Linked DNA regions of Homo sapiens: all the other regions are linked to region 3. Evidence: promoter capture Hi-C in 16 types of primary human blood cells and fetal thymus (Javierre and others, 2016). All regions are on one chromosome and are shown on one strand. Each heading gives the region's core, a stretch centred on a gene start or on the middle of the fragment in contact. The rest is flanking DNA. Distances are from core to core; before and after follow the strand shown. Region 1 has its middle 21 kb from the start of LYPLAL1-AS1. Region 2 has its middle 51 kb from the start of ZC3H11B. Region 3 holds the start of LINC02869 (long intergenic non-protein coding RNA 2869).

Evidence for each region. Contacts are between HindIII fragments. The CHiCAGO score rates a contact against its expected background, and 5 or more counts as called.
Region 1: a contact is called between a fragment that was not itself captured here and the fragment with the promoter of LINC02869 in region 3, in 1 of 17 cell types (M0 macrophages). The highest score is 6.3, in M0 macrophages.
Region 2: a contact is called between a fragment that was not itself captured here and the fragment with the promoter of LINC02869 in region 3, in 2 of 17 cell types (monocytes and M0 macrophages). The highest score is 6.1, in monocytes.

What each region holds. Positions count from the first base shown.
Region 1 is chr1:219,576,534-219,579,933 of GRCh38, reverse strand. No RefSeq gene overlaps it. Among named protein-coding and RNA genes, the nearest start is that of LYPLAL1-AS1, 21 kb to the right of the region's middle. The HindIII fragment of the contact is 3,359 bases long and covers 1-3,182 here.
Region 2 is chr1:219,662,232-219,665,772 of GRCh38, reverse strand. No RefSeq gene overlaps it. Among named protein-coding and RNA genes, the nearest start is that of ZC3H11B, 51 kb to the right of the region's middle. The HindIII fragment of the contact is 1,116 bases long and covers 1,186-2,301 here.
Region 3 is chr1:218,507,911-218,511,609 of GRCh38, reverse strand. LINC02869 (long intergenic non-protein coding RNA 2869) reads right to left here and starts at 1,515. Exons shown (of 3, transcript NR_146760.1): 1 at 1,423-1,515. The HindIII fragment of the contact is 5,893 bases long and covers 1-3,202 here.

The sequences.
Region 1 (3,400 bases), core at 254-2,753, 1.1 Mb before region 3:
CGCCTGTAATCCCAGCACTTTGGGAGGCTGAGGTGGGCAGATCACAAGGTCAGGAGATCAAGACCATCCTGGCTAACATGATGAAACCCCGTCTCTACTTAAAAAAAAAAAAAAAAAAAAAAATACAAAAAATTAGCCGGGCGTGGTGGTGGGTGCCTGTAGTCCCAGCTACTCGGGAGGCTGAGGCAGGAGAATGGCGTGAACCCGGGAGGCAGAGCTTGCAGTGAGCCGAGATCGCGCCACTGCACTCCAGCCTGGGCGACAGAGAGAGACTCTGTCTGTCTCAAAAAAAAAAAAAAAAAAAAAAAAAAGAAAGAAAGAAATTTTTGTTATATAACCACATTTGAATTTTATTCTAGGTCTATCCACATTTGGGCATTGGAGCTAGAAAGACTTCAGTTTGATTTTTGTTCTGAAATTATTTATTTTGTGACCTGATGGGGTGACCAACCATCTTAGTTTGTCTAAGGCGTTCCCAGACACTGAAAATCCTGCATCCTGGAAAATCCCTCAGTTCCTTGCAAGCTGAGATGGCTGGTTCACCCTAAAATAGGCAAGTAATTTAACACCCGGGTAGCTCATTCTCTTCACCTATATAATGTAGACAATGACACCTCGAAGAACTGTTAAGAGGATTAAAAACAACAAAGTATCAAGCACCCAGCACATACCTGGCTGTAGGAGAAACTGAAAAATACTGGCTTCAAATAATAACTTTTTCCTGGCTATGAAATTTTGGAATGGGAGGCTCCTTAAACCAAAAACTATGCCGACACTTTACAACGTACCTAATTTGGTCTGATGGACTATTTGATGATAAGGAAGAACAGTTTTCTACACCACAGAAGAGTTCCAAACATTTGCTAGTAAATTCTTAAAGTCTTCTGGTGATTGAATAAGGTGTGCTATGAAACAAAAATTTAAGTTTTCAGGCATTCTCTGATAAACCTATGCACACATCTGCCTCCTTGAAGAAATCTCACTAAGAGAATTCAGACTTCAGGCAGATATCTTGGGCATGCTTGTTCACATTATAAGGATCCTTTCTTTCATCTATCAAGTTTCCTAGTAGCTTCTTTCTGCAGCAATGGAAATGCTCTATACCTGTGCTGTCCGATATCATAGCCACTAGCCACATGCAGCTCTTCAGCCTTTGAATGTAGTTACGGAAACTAGGGATAAGATTTTCAATTTTACTTAATTTTAGTAAATTTAAATTTAGATTGCCTTCCTGTAGCCTAGTGGCTGTATTGGAGGGAGAGGAGCTCTAGTATATTTGTTAGCTGTTAGAATTGATGATTAATAGAGAAGCTAAGACAAATGGAGGAGGAAACACTGATAATGATATCTTAATTAGAACAGAGGATGGAGCTATTTCCAAAATTATTTAATTCAGTAGACAAGTAAGGATTTATTGAACAGAAGGACAGTTAGTGAACAACTTTTCAGAATGGCTGTCATGTCACCCAGGAGTTTGGGAAAGGACATCGAGGAGAGGCTGGAAGTCATGGAGTCTTGAATTTCACTTGTAGTTCTGGCCTGCCCTAACCTGCTGAGTATCCCTGCATAAGTCACTTACCTGCACTGGGCCATTTTTCTCTAAGATCCTTTAAAACCCCCAATATCTTTTGAAAGGAGAGTACTTGCACATTGTAACTATTTTTTTTCCCCTGGTAGGCATATCTAAAAGTCATTCTGATTTTAGCATTTTTGAACTAGTAGGGAAGGAGAGAAATGTATTGTGAGAAAAAAAAAAAACAACTTTTCTCTGGAGAGAATCTGAGTTAACGTAATTCAAATTCATAGATACTCAGTCTTTACTTACTATGAACACAGTCCCCTACAAGATGGATAAAATAAATTCTCTGTTCTTTTACCACTTACAGCCTGGTTGAGGAGGCAGGTAGGACAACTCAATAGGATCCAAGGAAGAATGAAATAAATGTGCAATGTGCATACAATTTGGGGTGAGGCCACAGAGGGAAGGTCTTTTTTTCACAGGGATATGCACAGGGTGGGTGGCGTTTGGCCACTTGGGCCTTGCAAGAGAGACTGATGCCTTCAACAGGGACAGAAGACGAGGAATCAGGTTTGACTAAACCGTTTGGGGTTTAAGGACCCAGAGTATTTGGGCAATGGTATAGTCACTTTTATTTTTTATCTTGCTGAAACAACTCACATTTGGTATTACTAAAGAATGAATAGAGTCCTAACTTTTGTTCATTATTTACGGCATCTCTTCCTTTCCTTTTGATAATTTTAGCACATTTCTGATGATGATTATAAACTTCCATTGTCTTCCCAAATGTACCTCTTTTAGAAGGGCATTCTAGGTGAGGGAGCATTGTGAGAAAATACAGGGAGATATGAGTGATGATTTCTACCAGGTACTCATTATGATGCAATCACTCAACAAAACAATTTTGAGGACCTGTGGTGTAGGCTATAATAGGATTCTACCTGCATTTGATCTTGCAACCCTAAGTCAGCTGCTAATTAGACTGCATATTTATCTTTTTCTCCTCCGAAGTGCCTATTAACACTCAGCTGCCCACACACAAAAAAGCCTATGCAAACAGCTTCTACCAAGGCTGCTGTCCCTTCTGGTGGCTTTCCAGACCTCCCTCACACAATTTTCTTAATTATATCTTCCACCATCCCCAGCTGTACCCCTGGAGCAGCTGCCACTAATCCTAAATAAATATTTCCTGTTCTCCTTAGAAACAATTAAACTTAGCCTTTACCAAACCTTTGGCATCTGAGGCTCACACTGGTGGTGGTGCAGCAGTTGCTTTTTGTCCTTGTAAACTGAGCAGAGACTAATTCTATTCTTAAAGTCCTTTTTCTTGAAACAGAATCGCCTCTGCTGATGTGTCTCTAACCTTTTGGTTATGCATACTGAATTGATAGCTTAGAAAATCGCTCACAGCCGCTTTCTGCCCTCCAGGCAACATAGAAACATAGAAAGAGGTTGTGGGCCTGGGGCTGATTGAGGCTCAAGCAGAGCCTGACTTTTCTCCGCAGCAGTGGATGCTGATGGTCGGAAGCATTGGTTCCCAAACTTGGCTGCCTTTGGGAGTAACCTAGAGAGTTTTAAAAATGCTGATGCTTGGGCCCACTCCAAGAAATCTCATTTAATTGCTCACGGAGGTGACCATGGGCATTGGGATAGTTAAAAAGCTTCCCAGGTGACTGGTCTAAATGAACTCCCTTCACACACTTCCTGGCTCTCTGTCTAGGTCCATTTTTACCCTGTTTTGGTTCCCTCTGATTGTCAGTAAGGCCAAGGCAGAAGAGATTGGTATTCAGACCTTCTTTGTCAGCCTAGATCTGCTTTTAACTGCAGGTCTAGCCCAGGGAAGAGAATATCTAGCTGGTATATTCCCTCTTCCCCCGAGCC
Region 2 (3,541 bases), core at 494-2,993, 1.2 Mb before region 3:
TCTTAGCCCCACGTGACCAAAATGCTGGACTATCCTGGCGTCGTGAGCTTATAAAGCAAACTCTCTGCAGCAAAGCAGTGCTGGGCAATGTGCGGCTGTGTCCATGTCTGTCAATGGCTTGACTTTCAATATGATATTTGTTCTGAGTATTTATTCAGAACTTCAAAGTCACCAACAGCAAATGATCCCTTATACAGTTTAGATGACACATGCTCTTGTAGGGTATGGTGTATACATTTTCTCTAAAAAAGAGAAAAATATTTCCTCAGCAAGTCTGGAAACAAGAAAATAGTTAATTTCTGGGGTCTGACAGTTTTTTTTTTAATGAGATTCCCTGAGACCCCCTGAAACTCATCTAAAAATCCCATCAGGGTCAGCATTGTGTGTGAGGTGTGTGCATCCAGAAGTGGGTACCTGTGATCCTAGCTGAGTCAAAAACTTGGAAGATGTGGGAGTTGAAGCAACAGATTAGAAATCTGATGACTATGACTATTTATGTATATACGTATGTAAATATAGCATCAGAACATCTGGATTAAAAAATAGAAAAATGTCTACATAGTTATCCATAGATATGGATATATAGATATAGATATAGATATATACTTATAAATATATAAAATGCTAAATATCTGGCTGAATAGTTTATGTGCTTTCTCAGTTTTATTTGGACTTAGACTAAGTGTGGACACAACATGTGAGTTCTGATATCAGTTATGTAAATAAGACTCTGTTTGTTCATAATTCGGGTTCTAGGTCTTTTTTCTTCTTAGGAAGCAGCTGGTAACATCGGTGACATTTCTAATGCACTTGGACACACCTGACAATACCCTACCTTGATGAAACAGGTGAATGCCTATGCCTTTTAGGGAGCAGAGCCAAACTTGAAAGGCACTACCACCACTGTACAGCTAGCTGGATCTTCCTTCACAGATTTGGAAATGTTTACTTAACTGAACTGTGTGGCTGCAGTTTCTAGGTATTTGATAAGGAAGAAGAGGAGTGACATGCCTCTCCTCAGAATGAAGCAGCAATATAGTCTTGTGTATTCTTTATGTTTTGAAGTTACACCTAGACCCAGGGACATGACAACATGGTTTGGGGATCACTAGTAAACCCCTGGGCACCTCTTGGTTGTCCCCAGGACTGCTTTCTGAGGTATTACAGTATGACGCTGTGTAAGCTTTGGTTTCTGGTATGAATTAACTTGATATATTTATTATATTACTTATGATTTTTAATGAAAACCAGACATCATCTCGTTGGTGTTTCACCAAAGCACTGCCACATTTACTTATTTATTTACTTTTGTGGTCAATGAGGTTTTGGGTTTTTTAAAAATCTCACTGATATTAGGTTGGTGCAAAGGTAATGGCAAAAACCACAATTACTTTTGCACCAGCCTAATACTATCCATAGACAAAAACATTGTATCTTGGTTTATTCTACATTTTATAGGTTGGTGCAAAAGTAATTGTGGTTTTCACCTTTTTTTTTTTTTTTTTTTTTTTTGAGACGAATTCTGGCTCTGTCACCAGGCTGGAGTGCAGTGGTGCAATCTTGGCTCACTGCAACCTCCACCTCCTGGGTTCAGACAATTCTCCTGCCTCAGCCTCCCGAGCAGCTGGGACTAGGGGCATGCACCACCATGCCCAGCTAATTTTTGTATTTTTAGTAGAGACGGGGTTTCTACTACGATCATGTTGACCAGGATGGTCTCGATCTCTTGACCTCGTGATCTGCCTGCCTCAGCCTCTCAAAGTGCTGGGTTTTTACCTCTTTTTAATGGCCAAAACTGCAATTACTTTTGCACCAACCTAATAAACAATTCGATAAACATTTCTTGAGTTCATCACACACTTGGATGAGTGCTGCAGCTATCTGGATGAAAAGCTATGATTCCTGCCCTTAACAAATTCATAGCCTAGTAGAGAAGACAGAGGACAAATAATTGTTTTAGAGATTGTAAAACCTGGTGATTTAGTGACAGGCTTGGAATGACATCCTCTGGATCTGAATCTTTTCTCTTGCCATATACTAACTGTGTGCTCTTGAATAAGTTTCCTAATGTCCCTTTATCTCAGAAAGGATAATCAACATCTAAATAAGGGTAAAAACTGTACCCTCTTATAAAGTTATTGTGATAATTAAAAGAATTAATACATGTATGAAGTGTTTCAAACAGTGCCTGGCAAAAAACAGAAGTCTAATAAATGTTAGCTTCTACTGTGATTCCTCAGAATTATGGCGGCAATAAAATAAATGCATTTGCATCAAAATCACCTGGTGATGGGGGAAGCTTAGTAAATGCAGATTCCTGGGCCTCCATCTCAGAGTTTCTAATTTAGTAGGTCTAGGTGGAGCTTGGGCTTCTGCTATTTTAATAAGCACCCGGGTTGGAGGTCTTTTTAAAGGGGTGGTGGCTGGCGAAAAGTTGTGGGTGATGAAGTTAGAAAGTGAAAGTAATTTCTGGAGAGTACCTGAGACCATCTAATTAAAGCATTTCAGTGAATAAATGGGTCAAATTGGTTTCTGATTTCATGTGGACAAAAATGAGGGATGGAGTAGAAGTTCGATCTTGCAGTTTGTCATGGTGGTGATAAGTAGAAACAGTCAATACTGTGCTAGTTAATCATTATGTCATATTCTCTTCTGATAACCAGCACTGAGCATTTCTAGGGAGAATTCAGCTTAGATGCTGGTAGTGGGGATATTTAGACACAGCAATGAGTTAAAAATAAGGATGTGAGCTCTCTCCCTCTTCCTCTTATGAATATCTCCCAAAAAAAGGTAGGCTTTTACCCATCTGAGGTGTTTAGATATTTGGGATATTTTAGATATTTTAGATTTGGATATTTGGATGCTTGGGAGTACTTAGGTAATGCCTCAAAATATCTACTCCATAAAATGAGAAGGGATCTTGGGGAAAAATGTTACTTTCTCTTTCTGTAGCATTAATAAAACTATGGAAATAGTGAGGGAATAGTCAATGGTCTTATAGTACAGATAAATAAATGAATTTCCGGCAGAATACGTGATTTTCTTCCTGCATTGTTTTAGACGAGATCGGGTGCGTTCAGGGTGGTATGGACGTATACCTTGCATTGTTTTAAACCAAGGGGATTTTACAGTGAATTTGAACAAGAAGAAAGTTCCAAGTGAAATCTGGCCATTGCTTTACATTTAATCTTTACATTGCTTTATGGTAGAACAAAACTTTTTGTCAGTTGTATGGTGGATTCTATGATTCACCTGATCCAGCAGGGGAAAGAAGGAGATTCTTTGGGAAACCTTGTTTGGTGACATGCAGTTGTTGGTGAGGTAAAGGGAAGGGACTAAAAAGGTAGTCAGAAATTGATTAGTTGTCAGAGACATTCAAGGGTCACCTTTGTTTTTTCTTTCTTTTTAAAATTGTCATTCTTCAGACATTCTATAGATGCTGTTTATTTATCATGCTATTAGCAGAAACTATGCTGCTCTAAAAAGTTACATAATCAAACCAAATCCTTATCCAATTTCACTGCAGTGGGACTCTGCCCAC
Region 3 (3,699 bases), core at 266-2,765:
GGCGTTCAAGGCAAGAGATAGAAAGTGGAAGTCATTAACTTACAGGGGATTTTTCTTTTTTTTTTTTTTTTTTTGAGATGGAGTCTTGCTCTGTCACCCAGGCGTGATCTCTGCTTACTGCAACCTCCACCTCTCGGGTTCAAGCAATTCTCCTGCCTCAGCCTCCCAAGTAGCTGGGACTATGGGCATGTGCCACCAAGCATAGCTAATTTTGACTTACAGGGGATCTTTAAAGCTGTGTTAGCAGGTACCTCTAAAAGACTGCAGAGAGAACAGAGAAACTAACACAGATTTGTGGACCACTGCTTCCATGGTTTATCAGAGTAATGAGTGGATTATGGGTAAATAAAATGGGAAATCAGCAAACAGGAATCAAAAAGCAGGGGCAAACCGTCAGTCATCAATCACATGCAATGAAAAGATCCCTTGTCAATACTGAACTCTGACTTTTTGCATTATTTTCTTCCTTCCCTCCCCTTCTAAATGGGCTTAGCTTTACCAGGTAGTCTCCTAGCTTTGTAGAATTTTTCCTATAAAATGCTTGCCAAAAGAAAGAGAAACACTTGCCTACCTTTTCATGTCTGCCCTTAAACATGTGAGTGGCACTCCAAGTGGTATTTTCCTCCGTCTCTGCTCTATTTTAGCTGACTGTTTCCTGCTGCCTGAAATTAGCCTGCCCCTAACTGTATAGATTACTTAGGTATGGCTTGCCTAGAGTAATAGATCCTAGTATTAAAAACTTTTGAATAATTCCTATCCACTAAAGTTATTTGATTTTAATTGAACTGAGCAGAATAAACTGACCTCTTCCAAATATTAATAAGTCAGATTGAATGAATCTTTCTGGGTTTTATTCTGCCTCTTAGCATCAAAGCAGAATTTTCCAACTTGAAAATCTTAAAAAGAGACCCTCAGTTATAGTCCGCTTTTAATGCCTGCTTAACTCATTCTGAAATAAATAAGTGGTAAAAGGAACAGGACTACCATCATCTGCTTAGGTTAATCATTGGTAGTGGAAAAAAATTGCTGAGTCAGCCACAGTGATGCTGTGCTGGTTAAAGTCTCACAGATCCTCACAGTTAATGACCATGATTGGTGAAGCAGTTCTCCAATATCACCTTTATTGTCTGTATGAAATCCTTCATATTTTGTAAGAGATGTAATTTCACTCTGTGTTCACATGGTATTGTCAACCACCAACAGTCAATGAGAGACAGATAACATAAGATGGACAGAGGTGGAACAGAGACGATAGAAACAGAAACCAGGGCCACGTTGTGGGAGAAAGTACAGCATGGGTTAGTTCCATAAGTGGTCAGTTCAATCGTGAATATTTTTACTTTATGATCACTCGTTCTTCTCGGTGTAATCTTGTAACTTCTGGGACTCACACAATTCATTTTTTAATGAAAATGTACTTACATTGTCTTATATATTGTAGTATTTGCATTTTTGAGTATATACTTCTTGATTCTGTAGTTAATTTCATCAAACATATCTTTCTGATATGACCCCTGTTTAAAAAAAAAAAAAAGTGAACCTTTTGAAACTCAAGCCTGATCAAGCTACTTCTTGCTTAAAATACTTCAGTGGTTTTCCACTGGTTTTTAGGAGAAACACCAAAATCCCTAATAGGGCCTACAAGCCAAGCAGTGTGTGGCCACTGCCTGCCTTGGAACATACTCTACCTTGTCCTTTATATTCCAGAATTTGTAAAATGGCTGAGTAACAAGTTTAATCACATTATTACATGATGTTCTCTCTTGTTCTCCCAAATTTTCATGTAAAAATTCCTTATACAGTTATAATGCACCCTAAACACAAGGTATTAGTTAAATTCTTATATATTCCATATTTTTATATAAGACTTTTAAAAAACTTTCTCAAAAAGAACTTTTCAATTAAAAATCATTTTCTCACACAGTAGATTAGTCCTTAGGCAGACTGTTCGTGTTGCTATTTAAAATGCCATCTTTTTCTTTGCCAATTTTGTTTTGTTTTGTCTCCCTCACCATCTTTTCACTTCTCGTTATCTCCTGCAGCACTCAAACTTGTTGCTAAAATTTGGTGAAAATGTTTGACAAACTCTATCGTGAATAACAAGTAGATCTTATTAAATTTGAATTCTGAAGTCTGATCTTGGGTGACCTCCTTTCTCTAAGCGTTCATTTTTCAATTATGCCAGACTGGGGCAGGGGAGAGGGTAAGAGGTAGTATTTATTTCCTATGATTACACAAGTAATTTATTCTTTGTAGAACATGTGCAAAGACTAAAAATACACAAAGAAGCAGAAAAATAGTCCATAATCTTAACACTCAGAGACAACCAATGATAATACCCTGGTGTATTGACTGCTCCCACTCTGGTGCCAGTCACCAGCACCTCACACTGAAACCAACCCAATAGTCCCATAGATCAGCAGTCCCCCAACCTTTTTGGCACTAGGGACTGGTTTTGTGGAAGACAATTTTTCCACAAACCATAGGGGGTGGGCAGGGGGAGTGCCGGCAGGTGATGGTTTCAGCATGATTCAAGCACATTACATTTATTGTGCACTTTATTATGCTGGGGAACTGTTGGCATAATTGTGTTTTGAAATGTGAGAAAGGTGAGATTTGGGAGGGACCAGGGGCAGAATGATATGGTCTGGATCTGTGTCCCCACTGAAATCCCATCTTGAATTGTAATCTGAATTGTAATCCCCACCTGTTGGGGAGGGAACTCATGGGAGGTGATTAGATTATGGGATGGTTCTCTCATGCTCTTCTAATGATAGCAAGTGAGTTCTCACAAGATCTGATGGTTTTATCAAGTGTTTTTCCACCTTTGTTTGGCACTTCTCTCTCGCCACCATGTGAAGAAGGACACATTTGCCTCCCCTTCTGCCATGATTGTAAGTTTCCTGAGCCCCTGTGGAATTATGAGTCAATTAAACCTTTTTCCTTTATAAATTACCCAGTCACAGGCAGTTCTTTATTGCAACATGAGAACAGACACAATTATGCCAACAGTTCACCAAAGTCTTAACTCATTTCAGCATTAACCCAAAAGTCTTAAGTTCACAGTCTCATTGAGACCAGGCAAGTCCCTTCTGCCTATGAGCCTAGTAGGATGTGGGTGGGGCCAGATAAAAGAAAAAAAGCAGGCTACCCGAGCCAGCAGTGGCAACCTGCTTGGGTCCACTTCCACACTGTGGAAGCTTTGTTCTTTTGCTCCTTGCAATAAATCTTGCTGCTGCTCACTCTTTGGGTCCACACTGCCTTTATGAGCTGTAACACTCGCCGCGAATGTCTGCAGCTTCACTCCTGAAGCCAGCGAGAGACCACGAACCCACCAGGAGGAATGAACAACTCCAGACACGCCGCCTTAAGAGCTGTAACACTCACCACGAAGGTCTGCAGCTTCACTCCTGAGCCAGCAAGACCACAAACCCACCAGAAGGAAGAAACTCCGAACACATTCGAACATCAGAAGGAACAAACTCTGGACATGCCACCTTTAAGAACTGTAACACTCACCGTGAGGGTCTGCGGCTTCATTCTTGAAGTCAGTGAGACCAAGAACCCACCAATTCCGGACACACTTTCATGGGCTGGCATTGTCTATGGCTTTTCCAGGCTCACCATGCAAGCTGTTGGTGGATCTACTGTTCTGGGGTCTGGAGGATGGGAGGATGAGGGCCCTCTTCTCATAGCTCC